Linked DNA regions of Homo sapiens: region 2 is linked to region 1. Evidence: promoter capture Hi-C in 16 types of primary human blood cells and fetal thymus (Javierre and others, 2016). All regions are on one chromosome and are shown on one strand. Each heading gives the region's core, a stretch centred on a gene start or on the middle of the fragment in contact. The rest is flanking DNA. Distances are from core to core; before and after follow the strand shown. Region 1 holds the start of RGL4 (ral guanine nucleotide dissociation stimulator like 4). Region 2 holds the start of SLC2A11 (solute carrier family 2 member 11).

What was found. The method cuts DNA at HindIII sites, captures the fragments that hold promoters and counts their contacts. A CHiCAGO score of 5 or more calls a contact.
Region 2: a contact is called between the fragment with the promoter of SLC2A11 here and the fragment with the promoter of RGL4 in region 1, in 2 of 17 cell types (total B cells and non-activated CD4 T cells). The highest score is 6.3, in total B cells.

What each region holds. Positions count from the first base shown.
Region 1 is chr22:23,687,070-23,693,843 of GRCh38, forward strand. It overlaps RGL4 (ral guanine nucleotide dissociation stimulator like 4), which reads left to right and starts at 3,944. Exons shown (of 11, transcript NM_153615.2): 1 at 3,944-5,140; 2 at 5,266-5,459; 3 at 5,600-5,922; 4 at 6,690-6,774. The coding sequence starts at 4,962. It also overlaps the pseudogene GUSBP11. The HindIII fragment of the contact is 11,564 bases long and covers 1-6,559 here.
Region 2 is chr22:23,854,622-23,861,395 of GRCh38, forward strand. It overlaps SLC2A11 (solute carrier family 2 member 11), which reads left to right and starts at 3,254. Exons shown (of 12, transcript NM_001024939.4): 1 at 3,254-3,408. The coding sequence starts at 3,379. The HindIII fragment of the contact is 21,043 bases long and covers 1-6,774 here.

The DNA of each region.
Region 1 (6,774 bases), core at 2,694-5,193:
GACTTCCTCACGATCACCAAGCTACAAGGGGGAGCTGGGCTTTGAATGGAGGTCTACCCATGCTCCTAAAGTTGAGGCGTCCTCCAAGGAAAGGACAGCACCTATAAAAGCTCAATGAATGGGGCGGCAGTGTCACCACTAAGCCCGACCACGCTGCTACTCTGATATCCAACTTCCAGCCTCCAGAACAGGGAGAAATACAGTTCTGTTTTTGATGAGCTCCCCAGGCCGTTACAGCTCTTTCTTTGCTGTAACAGCCTGAACTAGCCCAGAAGTGCTATTCCATCATCTGTGTCATATTCCATCATTCAGAAGGGAGTCACTAACCCCTCAGTGCTGTCTCTGTGGACGCTGCCCACCCTAGGCTGAGATGAGGCACAGGGTCTGGGTCTAAATAAAATGGGAAGGCACTGGAAGGTGCAATGTCATAGGAGGAGGATGTCTGAATTTCATTTAATCTCAACCTCTACTGGTGCAGCATGAAAGATGAGGCCCAGAGCAAAAGTGTCTTTTCCCGAGATCACACTGTGGACCCCAGGCCCACTGGAGTTGCATTAGACGTTACCTCTCACCCCTTCTTGTATTTGTTCCATTTCTAAGTGTGTGCAATATCCACAGGGAACACCACACCATGAGTTTTTAAATATTTATCTCAAACATAACCTCATGAGTTCCCTAGGAAAGAGATGCTAGCATAACCCCCATTGTGCATGCTGGGGAGACCCCAAAACACCAAAGGAGTTCTCTAGGGTCTCACAACTGCTAAAATAAAGGCTGTTTGACCCAGCACTGTCTCCTCAAACCTGGGACCCTGGTTATATCCAGGTCTTCCCAAGGTGCTGAAGGGGCACACTTTTTCATAATGGTGACTACGTAAGGAGTTGACGGGGGAGGGTGAGCGGTCAGAAGCCCAGAGGGGCCTTTGAGTAGGACTTATGGAAAGGAGGAGCTTACAGGATGGAACCTACAAGATGTGACCTCACTTCCTTGCCGACAGACCCCCAACAGAACTTACAATTCTGGTAACTAGGCACCCACATTCTAGAGACAGCCCCATTTCCAGCTCACTTCGTAGGCGATGCTCGAGAGAACAACATGTTCTCCTGCTGTATCCCGACATGCTGCCGACCTCCTCGTCGCACAAGAGGCCAAAATGAGAGTCTTTCCCGAGAATATAGACATTGGTTCAACCCTCACCCTCGACGCCTCTGGCCCTTTGCCAGAAGGCACCCACAGGTAACACAGGGCCCAGGGCAGGCCCATCCAGGCTAGGCCTCAGCTGTGCCCATCAGGGCAGCCTCAGGCCCCTCCCCACTTGTTTGGGGGAAACAGGAGATGAGGGGCCCTCCCTGGATAGGAGCAGGTAGGTTGTCAGGTGTTTGGAGCCTGGTAGGTATGTCAGGTTCACAGCCCAGGCAGTGCCTGGCAGGATGGGAAGGTGAGTGTCAAGGACACAGTTTGTCTGCTCAGATCTGAATCCCAAGTCCTCAAGCTGTCATCTGCCGGAGACCTCAGGCTTCTCTGGCTGGAGGTCTATGCAGATGCTCCTATGTGCCAAATCCTGTTGGGGAAGGGGGTGCCAGGGATGAGTTCTAATGGGGGTGTCCCACTGTGGGGTCAGCCAGACAGGCCACTGACACCTCTTGGCCCGGCTCTCGGGCACTCTCTTTGCAGAGCTCCACACAACAGACCAAACAAGAGCTGTTGGATGGATTCAATTTCTCCATATTCTTCAAAGGGCACGTGCACCACACCACCAACCACGTCCAGTGCCGGTCTGCGGTGAGATTGGGCACAGAAGGGTCTCCACAGACAGGACTTGTGAAAACCAAGGTGGGCCCAGGACTCAGACACGAATATGGGGACTCCCTAAGCTCCATCCTAGGGCGTTCCCACTTGAGTGACCCACTGTCCTCTCCCAAAGGAATCTGGCTGCCATTAGTCCCCAGTGGCAACTTGGTTACAGGCAAAGTCCCTTTCACCTATCAGAGGAAGACCAGAGAAAATCCTTCTGTTTTCACTTTAGGCTATGCCAGGAGTATCTCGGCATGTTGCTTTAAGAATTGAGTACAATGGTAACATTGCAGCAAAATACTCACACTGTTATCATTTTAACTCCCCACCCTAAGTGGATCTCCGGCAACAGGCAGGCAGCTCCGCTGCCCTGCCAGACCTCCTCCAGGACTTAAAATCCAACACTTTTGCACAAACAAGGGGTGGGGGTGGGGGGGGTGCATTGATTACAACAAAAGAAGGTGAAGCGACTCTATGCATTAGTCTTTAAAGTGTCATCTCACAGAACTCATCCCTGCAGCCCCATCAGGCAGGAGTTGTACCCTCGCATGTCATTGTAACATTCCTTAAGGGAGGCCATTTTCCACAGCGGGTCAGCCTCTCAGTGCTGGTGGAGCCTGTCATGATAAAATTCCCTTTCGAGGCAGCCTTTCTACAAGGAGCATAATCCTATGCGTGTCCTAATAGGCTGGAGCAGTTTGCCAGGGCTGCCATAACACGGCACCCTGACTGAAGGGCTTAACCACAGAAATCTGGTTCCTCACAATTCTGGAGACTGGAAGTCCAACGTCAAACTGTCAGCCTGGGGTGGTTTCTCTGGGCCTCTCTCCTTGCCTTGGAGATGGCGGACTTCTATCTCAGTCAGCACAGGGTCTTCTCTTGAACTTCTCTGTGCGCTGACCCCCTCTCCTTGTAAGAACCCCAGGCATGTTAAATTAGGGGCCACCCTAATGAACTCACTTCACCTGAATTACCTCTTGGAGTACTCTGTGTCCAGACACAGTCACATTCTGAGTCTCTGGGGTTGAGAATAGAAACAGTTACATTTGGGGAAGGGGACACAATTCAACCCATAAAATAAACAAATCCCCTGCAGCAGACAGACACCCAGGAAAGGGATATCTGGGTGAAAGGATATGCAGATATCAACTTTCAACAGCTCTAGCTAGTTGACTTTCCAAAAGGGCTCCAGCTGGTCACACGGTCACCAGCAGCCTCTGAAGGTAGCTGCTTCTCTGAACGCAGCCTCCCCTGAATACTAACACGCTTTTAACTTTTCGCCAACCTGCTGTCTGTGTGGCAGAGAAAATCCTTGTTTCATTTCCACTTTCAAACATACATTTGCGTAACCTTTCACGGGTTCAATACCTGCCTGCGTTTTCCCCAAGTCGCCTCGCAGATCCTGGGCCTTGGGACGCGCTTCCTCCCACCCTGGAGTCTTCCGGCATTTTCCCCTTGGCCAGGGCTGGGATGGCCGTAGCTGTTTCTCCAGACTCACGTTCATGTTAAAGGAACAAAAACAATCATATACCTTTAAGTCAAAGAGTTCTTCTAGAGCGTATTGTCCTGTGTGCTGTTGCTGAAATGAGGAGGGGATGAGGCCTCCCCAGGCCTTGAGGACTTGCAGGGATGATGCTCTTCATGCAGGTTGCTGACACAGAGGGTGCTGTTGCCCCACAGCTGACAAACACCGGGACGATGCCTTGAAGGCAGGAATCGTTTTATCATTCTCCATCCTCACATGCAATGTTACTTTGAAAGCCTAGAACGCTTTTCACCATGGGCACCCAGGTTCTCCATATGCACAAGTCCCTGAAGGGTTGGTGCTTCTTGGTGTGAGTTCCAGATCCCGATCCTCTGGTGGTCCATGGTGTTACCACTGACTCCCATGTCCCTCCTTGTCCCCCTAGTATGAAAATGAGATCTGCAGGATGCTAACTTTCCAGCCCGGCACTGGGGAGAAGCTGTTGGGAGTCCCTGGTTCCAGCCTTTCTAACTAAACCCATCTCCTCCTATGCCACCTGCCTGGGCCCCTCCTGGGACTTTATCACTGTGCCACACTTTTTGGAACTACTGGTTAGAAGGTGAGTGTCCATCCCCCTCCAAGACACAGAGGTGCCTCTGTCCCCTACTGGCTCTGTCTTGAAGATGCACCTCTCGGAGCCTCGGTTGGCTCCTCTGGAACAGGGAGTAGTGAGAAGACGAACCTCACAGGGTTCTTGTAGGGACTCAATGATCTAAGACACAGCAAACAAAGGGGTCCCTAGAGCCTAAAACTCTGGAAAATCTGCTGGGGGTGCTGTGATTCATGTTTGTTACTTTTCTCTTCCCCCTCACTTGAAGCAGCTCTCAGCATTCTGCCTCAATGGCCTGTATCACTCACTGTTTGGAAAAACACATAGAAACCAAGTCTGCGATGGCACTGGTAAAGGATGTCTGAGATTCCTTCTGGCTGGTCTTTCTCCTTGACACAGACAGAAGAGGGGTCCCTTGGTGCTGAAAAAGGAGCCACAGGCCCACTCAGACATCTGGAGAGGCTCACTGGGGTTCTCCAAAGGTTGGGGTTCACTCATTCAACACATACATTCAAAACACCTCATTTGTGCATCGCTCTTCTTGGGGCTTGGCATAATTTCATAAACAAAGCAGATGACAATCCCCCGGCCTTGATTCTACTCAGAGTCAGGCACTCACAGTAGACAGAATAAACAAGTCATATCTACAGAATGTTACAGGTGAGACCCTCATGGCCTCCTCTACGTATGGTGGCATCCTCCCAGATTCTGACTAGAATGACGCAGCCCAGCAACAAATATAAACTGGGTGGATTTAGGGTTCTGAAGGGCCTTTTCACCCACAAAACATGGGGGAAAATATGTGGACTCTGGCTGGGGAGAGACTAAAGGAGCTCTGGGGCTCATACTTCTTATAATTCCCACGAGAAGGCTGACATCTGGGGACTTCCCCCACAAGAGGCAAATAGTGAGTTCTGTAAATGGAGACTTAGGTCCCCTGCAAAGCAGAGGGGAGGCTGGGGTCACAGCTGGCCACTGAGAGACCCATCCCCCTCAGCACCGTGGCTTCCCAGCTCTCCCTGTCCTCCTCCCCCCGACATCTGCCCCTTCCCTCCTAACCCCAGGACCAGGGGACCCAGATCTGGAGCTTTGATGAGGAAGCTGCTCACAAATCTGCCTGCAGCTGCAGTCTTGAGTGCCCAGGTGTACAGTGCTGTGCTCCAGGGCCTTTGGGAAGAGAATGTCTGTGGGACGCCAGGGCGCACGAGGGTCTGTACAGCCCTGCTGTATGGCCAGGTCTGCCCCTTCCAGGACAGCACTGATGGCTTACGGTAGGGTGGGGCTGTCCTCCACACTGGCAGCAACAGGCCAGGGACCCAGAACCACGCAGGGGTGCCCTGGAGGGTTGTGTGGGAGAAGGCCAGGCCTCTGACTCAGCTGTCTACTCCATCACCAGCACCATCACCTCCATTTTGTTCAACTGGCCCCCCGAAAACACTTCAGTTTACTATCAGCCCCCGCAACGGTCATCTTTCCGGATAAAGCTGGCCTTCAGGAACCTCTCCTGGCCTGGACTGGGCTTGGAGGACCATCAGGAAATTGTCCTAGGCCAGTTGGTGCTTCCGGAGCCCAACGAGGCCAAGCCAGATGGTGAGGGGGCTTGCAGTCTGCAAGACTTTCCGGGGGTGGTGTTTTGGGGCTACAATTCCCTTAAATTCCACCCGGTCATTTCTGTGCTTGGAAAACCCAGTGAAAAATGACTGGTGTGGTGACCTTTTCTCCTTTTCCAGATCCTGCTCCACGTCCTGGGCAACACGCATTAACAATGCCGGCCCTGGAGCCAGCACCACCACTGCTGGCGGACCTGGGGCCTGCTCTGGAGCCAGAGTCACCTGCAGCCCTGGGTCCACCAGGATATCTACATTCAGCACCAGGGCCAGCACCAGCACCAGGGGAAGGGCCCCCTCCAGGGACAGTGCTGGAGCCACAGTCAGCCCCAGAGTCCTCCTGTCCCTGTCGTGGGTCTGTAAAGAACCAACCCAGTGAGGAGCTGCCTGACATGACGACCTTCCCTCCCAGGCTGCTGGCAGAGCAGCTGACCCTCATGGATGCGGTGAGCAGCTGAGCTTTGCAGGCTGTGTCTCTGGCACCAGCTGTCTCAGACCAGCCTCTCCCTGAGGAGCAGCCAATGCCCTCGGTCCAATTTCAGCCCCACTTCTTACCAACCGTGGGATCTGGATGAGTTTCCTCACCCACAAGCCTTCCCTGTCTGCATGTGGACGGCAGAGATGGGACATCACCAGCGCCAGCTGCACAGAGTGACTGTGCAGACTGAGTGACAGGAGATGGACAGAAAGCAGGGCAGGGCAGGTGCTCACTGTGGGGCAGGCAGGGCCATGGGTCACTCACCCAGCTGCTCAGGAGCCTCACTACCCTCAGCACTTATTAGGTACCTGATGCATACTGGATTCTATGGTAGACACCCAAACAGAGCCCATAGTTGCAGCTGCCACAAGGAAAGTGCACCGGTACGGAGAGGAGTAGTAGAGGGCTGATTGGGATGGGAGGAAGACGAGGCCTCAGGATGGGCAGGCCTGAGCCACCTTCTAGTTCTTAGAGTGTGGATGGCCTGGGAGAAAATGTCACTCTCTCTTCCCACCCTTGTTGGGTTCTAGGCCATGATGCATTCAGGTCCCTCGGGGGCAGAAAACCAAACCCAGGGACTCCCACAAGTCTGGAGCCCATTTTAAAGCTTTCTGAGCTCCAGCTTGGTTCCTGCCAGAGACCGTGGATGACTGTGAGCTCAGTCCCTGCCTGGGACTGTGGGTGACTCTGAGCTGCAGTGTGCTGTGTCCGTGACACTCTCCTCCTCCCCCAAAGGAGCTGTTCAAGAAGGTGGTGCTCCACGAATGCTTGGGCTGCATCTGGGGCCAAGGACATCTGAAGGGGAATGAGCACATGGCAC
Region 2 (6,774 bases), core at 2,004-4,503, 170 kb after region 1:
ACCCCGTCTGGGAAGTGAGGAGCGTCTCCGCCCAGCAGCCACCCCGTCCGGGAGGGAGGTGGGGGGGGTCAGCCCCCCGCCCGGCCAGCCGCCCCGTCCTGGAGGTGAGGGGCTCCTCTGCCCGGCCGCCCCTACTGGGAAGTGAGGAGCCCCTCTGCCCGGCCAGACGCCCCGTCCAGGAGGGAGGTGGGGGGGTCAGCCCCCCGCCCGGCCAGCCGCCCAGTCCGGGAGGGAGGTGGGGGGTCAGCCCCCCGCCCGGCCAGCCGCCCCGTCTGGGAGGGAGGTGGGGGGATCAGCCCCCCGCCTGGCCAGCCGCCCCATCCGGGAGGTGAGGGGCGCCTCTGCCCGGCCGCCCCTACTGGGAAGTGAGGAGCCCCTCTGCCCGGCCAGCCGCCCCGCCCGGGAGGGAGGTGGGGGGGTCATCCCCCCACCTGGCCAGCCGCCCCATCCGGGAGGGAGGTGGGGGGGTCAGCCCCCTGCCCGGCCAGCCGCCCCGTCCGGGAGGGGGGAGGGGGGGTCAGCCCCCTGCCCGGCCAGCCGCCCCGTCCGGGAGGGAGGTGGGGGGGGTCAGCCCCCCGCCTGGCCAGCCGCCCCGTCCGGGAGGGAGGTGGGGGGATCAGCCCCCCGCCTGGCCAGTCGCCCCGTCCGGGAGGTGAGGGGCGCCTCTGCCCGGCCGCCCCTACTGGAAAGTGAGGAGCCCCTCTGCCCGGCCAGCCGCCCCGTCCGGGAGGGAGGCGGGGTGGGGGGGGGGGGGTCGGCCAGCCGCCCCGTCCGGGAGGGAGGTGGGGGGGGTCAGCCCCCCTTCCGGCCGGCCGCCCCGTCCGGGAGGTGAGGGGCGCCTCTGCCCGGCCGCCCCTACTGGGAAGTGAGGACCCCTCTGCCCGGCCAGCCGCCCCGTCCGGGAGGGAGGTGGGGGGGACAGCCCCCCGCCCAGCCAGCCGCCCTATCCAGGAGGTGAGGGGCGCCTCTGCCCGGCCGTCCCTACTGGGAAGTGAGGAGCCCCTCTGCCTGGCCAGCCGCCCCGTCCGGGAGGGTGGTGGGGGGGTCAGCCCCCCGCCCGGCCAGCCGCCCCATCCGGGAGGTGAGGGGCGCTTCTGCCCGGCCGCCCCTACTGGGAAGTGAGGAGCCCCTCTGCCCGGCCACGACCCCGTCTGGGAGGTGTGCCCAGCGGCTCATTGGGGATGGGCCATGATGACAATGGCGGTTTTGTGGAATAGAAAGGCGGGAAGGGTGGGGAAAAAATTGAGAAATCGGATGGTTGCCGGGTCTCTGTGGATAGAAGTAGACATGGGAGACTTTTCATTTTGTTCTGTACTAAGAAAAATTCTTCTGCCTTGGGATCCTGTTGATCTGTGACCTTATCCCCAACCCTGTGCTCTCTGAAACATGTGCTGTGTCCACTCAGGGTTAAATGGATTAAGGGCGGTGCAAGATGTGCTTTGTTAAACAGATGCTTGAAGGCAGCATGCTCGTTAAGAGTCATCACCACTCCCTAATCTTAAGTACCCAGGGACACAAACACTGCGGAAGGCCAAGGCCGCAGGGTCCTCTGCCTAGGAAAACCAGAGACCTTTGTTCACTTGTTTATCTGCTGACCTTCCCTCCACTATTGTCCTATGACCCTGCCAAATCCCCCTCTGCGAGAAACACCCAAGAATGATCAATAAAAAAAAAATAAATAAATTAAAAAAAAAAAAGAAAAAAATTAACCTATCAAAATAAAATATCAGCAGTTGAAACTAACAATGTATTAATAACAATAATATTATGACCAAGTTGCGTCTACCCCAAGAATTCAAGAATGGTTTACCATTAGAAAGTTTATTGATGTAACTGATCTCATTAACAGATTAAAGGAGAATACCCATATGATCATCTTAATAGATGCACGAAAAGCATGCAATAAAATACCTATTTATTATAACTGCTAATATTTTGTGTTTTTCCTTAAAAATGCAGTGTTTTTAGGAATTAAAGTTCAGAGCAGCAAAAGTCAAACAAAAACCAAGTCTGAGCAATAGAGCTACTACAGTGCCCATCACAGTGTCTGCTCAGGTGACTTCTTAAGGTCATGTCCAGCTCTATGTTTCTGTGACCACAAATAGCATCTTTGGCAAGTCTAGTTTCAGTTGGTCTTTGTCCAGCTCCTGGATTCCTCCATGCAGGGCCTGAGAAGCCCTGAGGGATAAAAGATTAATCCGGTTCAGTGGACTCTGTGGTTCCTCAACTCCAAGTGCCCCCAGCATAAGTCGGACCTGCCTCTCACGCAATGGATCCCCTGGCGGCAACCCGAGACCGGTTCTCCTACCCGCATTCCGCCAAGTCTCTCGCTCTGCCCAGGACGCACAGATGAGAGCGCTCCGAAGACTGGTGGGTCTATCTTTCGGTCTTTCCTAATTTTCCCGTCCTCTGGGGAAAGGTCGGGGATACCTGAACCAAAGTGTGTGTGTGTGGGGGGGGGGGGGTGTAGGTGGGGCGTGCATAGATGTGCACAACCAAGGGCTTGGCCCTCCGGAGAACGCCCAGGGGCAGTGGCCTCCGAGGTTCTGGCGGCCGGCAGTGGCGACCGGCGCAGGGAATCGCGCAGGGTTGCGGCTGAGGTCAGACCAGCGAGAGACAGAGACCCGCAGACATTTAGTCCAGAGACTGTAGCAAAGGAGGGGGACGAGGGGCCAGAGCCGGAATTTCGGGGGAGGACTTGGGAGCGCGGCGACCAGAGTCGCTTGCTGGCACTTGCGAGGGCGAATGCAGGGGCTTGGCCGAGATGACCTTGGACCAGAGCTCCCTTCCGGCCTGCAGAGATGAGCTTGGGGCTTAGCCGAGTAAGGAGTGAGCGGCTTTTCAGCCTCAGTGCTGCGGCAGAGGCGGATGGAGGATGAACTGGAGCCGTCCTTACGGCCTCGGACGCAGGTGAGCTCCCAGCGGCGGCGACAAACCCCGCGGCGGTGACCCCAAACCCCCCCCCCGCGGCGGCGACTCCCCCCCAACACGCTGGGGCGAACTCCCCAGCACCCCCAGCCCTTCTTAAAAACGCTGAGTCCGCGCATGCGCCTCAGGCGCCCTCCGCGACACTCTAGCGGCTCTGCGCTTCACTGCGCCTGAGCTTGAGTCTCAGGCCTTAGTCCCGGCCATCGTTTAGCGTTGCGCGAACCCTCAGCTGGTGCGGCCGCTCTCAATACCCACTGCGCTTGCGCTACAGCTTCGTCTCGACGGGTTTGCTCCTCTCAAACGCTCACTGCGCGTGCGCTAGCGCCTCTTTCACCACTGGGCGCTGCGCGCTGCCCTTCCCTCCGCGCACAGGCTGCCGGCTCACCGCTTGCTAATGGCAGCCGGGGTCTCCCTGGGACAGCAAGACCTCCGCTCAGGCCCCTCTTTCGAATGCTCCACGCCCTCCTGCGATCTAGAATGGTATGAATTCTCATACTTGCCCAGACCAGGCGTTTCAGATGAGGGATTGCGGACCTGAGTGAACTGCGCAGGTGCAGCCACCTGGGAGGCTTAACTAAGTCGTCAAATGTTCAAAAATATCGTGCTTGTATGTACAGTGGCGTTAGGTGCTAGGCTCAGATGTGCATAGGCAGGTGTTTACGCCCAGGGTCGGCCTGTGGGCCAGAGCAAGGTTGCTGGACCCTGGCATCCCAGCCCCCAGAGATGCTAAATCCTCTGCCGATCAGCCCTGACCTCAGAGGCAGTAAGCCCTCCGAGCGCTGCAATCCTGACTGCTCGCCCCCTCCCGAGACTGTTTCCCACCCCCGCCTCTTTCCTCCTCATGCTCCCTCAGCTCTGACCTGACGTCCTGCCTCACAGAGGGAAAGGGCGCAGCCAGAGGAGAGCGCCCGCACTGCACTGCCCACCGCTTCTAGGGGTTCCTTCCCAATCTGGACTGATTTCTTTAGGTATTTGCATGGCACATTCCCTCACCTCCTTTGTCTTGATTTGCACTTGTATTCCTTGACAGCCTTATTTAAAATAGCACCAACTAAGGTGGGAGGATCGCCCAGGAGTTCGAAGCTGCAGGGATCTAATAGGATCTCACCACTGCACTCCAGCGTGGGCGACGTAGCGAGACCTTGTCTCTAAAAAATAAAAATAAAATAAAATAAAATAAAATAGCACCACCTGGTCCAAACACTTCCTACGCCCCTTCACTGCTTTAAGTCTCTGTAGCACCAGCTGATGTACTATATATTTTGCTTGTTCATTTTGCGATTGCTTGTCTTTCTCTGCTGGAAGGAAAGCTCTGACAGCTCATGGATTTTGTCTGTTGTTCACTGCTGTATCCCAACACCTAGAACAGTAGGATTATTGACCATAATAGGGAGGCAATAAATCTTTGTTTGCTGAATTAATGGTCCCTATCGTAGCTAATGTCTGAATGCTTACCATGACCAGGCACGGTATAGGCAATCTCCATGCATGATCTCATTGAATTCAACGATTTCCTGTAGTCTTAGAGACCTGTCAATATCTCCTGCTACATGAGCTCAGCTGCCATCAAGCACTGTGTTCGCTGCTTCCTTCACATCTGCTGTCTTAAGGGAGCTCTCACTTCCATGCGGCCCCCGTGGAGCTGTAATTTGGCCTCAATGGGACCAGATGCCAGGTTTCTCACCTGGCTTCTTCCTAAGGCTTCCAGCCTTAGAGAAAGTTACTTAGGCCTTATTGGAACTATGGGCAGCCAGGGCCCCTGTCACCAACCTGTCTCCAGACCTATGGCAAGGCCTTCAGCAGGATTCTGCCCTCCAGAGCCACTTCCTCTGCTCCCCCAGCCTCCAGTGCAGTATCTCACTGAATGGTGAAAGCACAGCTGTCTCTTTCCCAGCTGTATCTTGCCCCCCAGCACACTTCCTGGCTGAGATAAACATTCAGCATTTTTTTTTTTTTGAGATGGAGTCTCACTCTGTTGCCCAGGCAGGAGGGCAGTGGCGCGATCTGGGCTTACTGCAACCTCCGCCTCCCTCCCGGATTCAAGCAATTCTGCCTCAGCCTTCTGAGTAGCTGGGATTACAGGTGCCCACCACCAAGCCCGGCTAATTTTTGTATTTTTAGTAGAGACAGGGTTTTACCATGTTGGCCAGGCTGGTCTCGAACTCCTGACCTCAAGTGGTCTGCCCACCTCGGCCTCCCAAAGTGCAGGGATTGCAGGTGTGGGCCACGACATCCGGCCAACACTCAGTATTTGACTAATAAATGAATAAATAGTCCGTAGGTTCTGGAAACTTCAGAAAACCTTAGCCAAACATCCTTCTGTCATGAAAATTGTATCAAAGTTTTCAAAAATAATACATTTAATTCTACAGAACAATTTGCCAGAACAAGAAAGGCAGTATTTTTTGGGGGAAGATATCAACGATTCAATTTTTGTAAAGTCAACTACTTTGCAAATATCTAGGAAAATACCTGAGGGAAGGAGTTAATTGTTGTGCCTTTGGAGGAGTGGAGAACTTTCAGTATATACTGAATTTTCAAAAATCTTAACAAACGTGTCATTTTGTAATTAAAAATCACAAAAGAGTGGGCTGGGTATGGTGGCTCACGCCTGTAATCCTACCACTTTGGGAGGCCAAGGCGAGTGTATCGCTTGAGCTCAGGAGTTTGAAACCAGCCTGGGCAATATGGTGAAATCCCATCTCTACAAAAAAATTAGCCCAGCATGATGGTGTGTGCCTGTAGTCCCAGCTACTTGGGGGGCTGAGGTGGGAGGATCGCTTGAGCCCAGGAGGTTGAGGCTGCAGTGAATCAAGATTGCGACACTGCACTCCAGCCTGGGTGACAAAATGAGACCTTGTCTCAAAAAACAAAACAGAAAATCACCAAAGGAGAAAGATAAATACTTCTGTGAATCCCTAAGACGACCTCAACTACAGGTCGGGTGCGGTGGCTCACGTCTGTAATCTCAGCAATTTGGAGGCTGAGGTGGGCAGATCACTTGAGGTCAGGAGTCTCTACTAAAAATACAAAAATTAGCTGGGTGTGGTGGTGCATGCCTGCAATCCCAGCTACTCGGGAGGCTGAGGCAGGAGAATCGCTTGAACTGGGAGGCGGAGATTGCAGTGAGCCAAGATTGCGCCATTGCACTCCAGCCTGGGCGGCAGAGCAAAACTCCGTCTCTTTTTTTTTTTTGAGACGGAGTCTCACTCAACCTCCACCTCCTGGGTTCAAGCAGTTCTCTGCCTCAGCCTCCCGAGTAGCTGGGATTACAGACGCCTGCCAACACGCCCAGCTAATTTTTTTTTTTTTTTGAGACGGAGTCTCGCTCTGTCGCCCAGGCTGGAGTGCAGTGGCGCTATCTCGGCTCACTGCTAGCTCCGCCTCCCGGGTTCACACCATTCTCCTGCCTCAGCCTCCCCAGTAGCTGGGTCTACAGGTGCCCGCCACCACGCCTGGCTAATTTTTTGTATTTTTAGTAGAGGCGGGATTTCACCGTGTTAGCCAGGATGGTCTCAATCTCCTGACCTCGTGATCCGCCCGCCTCGGCCTCCCAAAGTGCTGGGATTACAGGCATGAGCCACTGCGCCCGGCCAATTTTTGTGTTTTTAGTAGAGATGGGGTTTCACCATCTTGGCCAGGTTGGTCTTAAACTTCTGACATTGTGATCCACCCGCCTCGGCCTCCCAAAGTGCTGGGATTACAGGTGTGAGCCACTGCGCCAGGCCAAGACTCAGTCTCAAAAAAAAAAAAAAAAAAAAAAAAAGAAAATCCCAACTATCCCAACTACAAAGGATGAGGCATCAGGGATGCCTTGGGGAATTCTCCCTCCATCTCTAAGGGTGT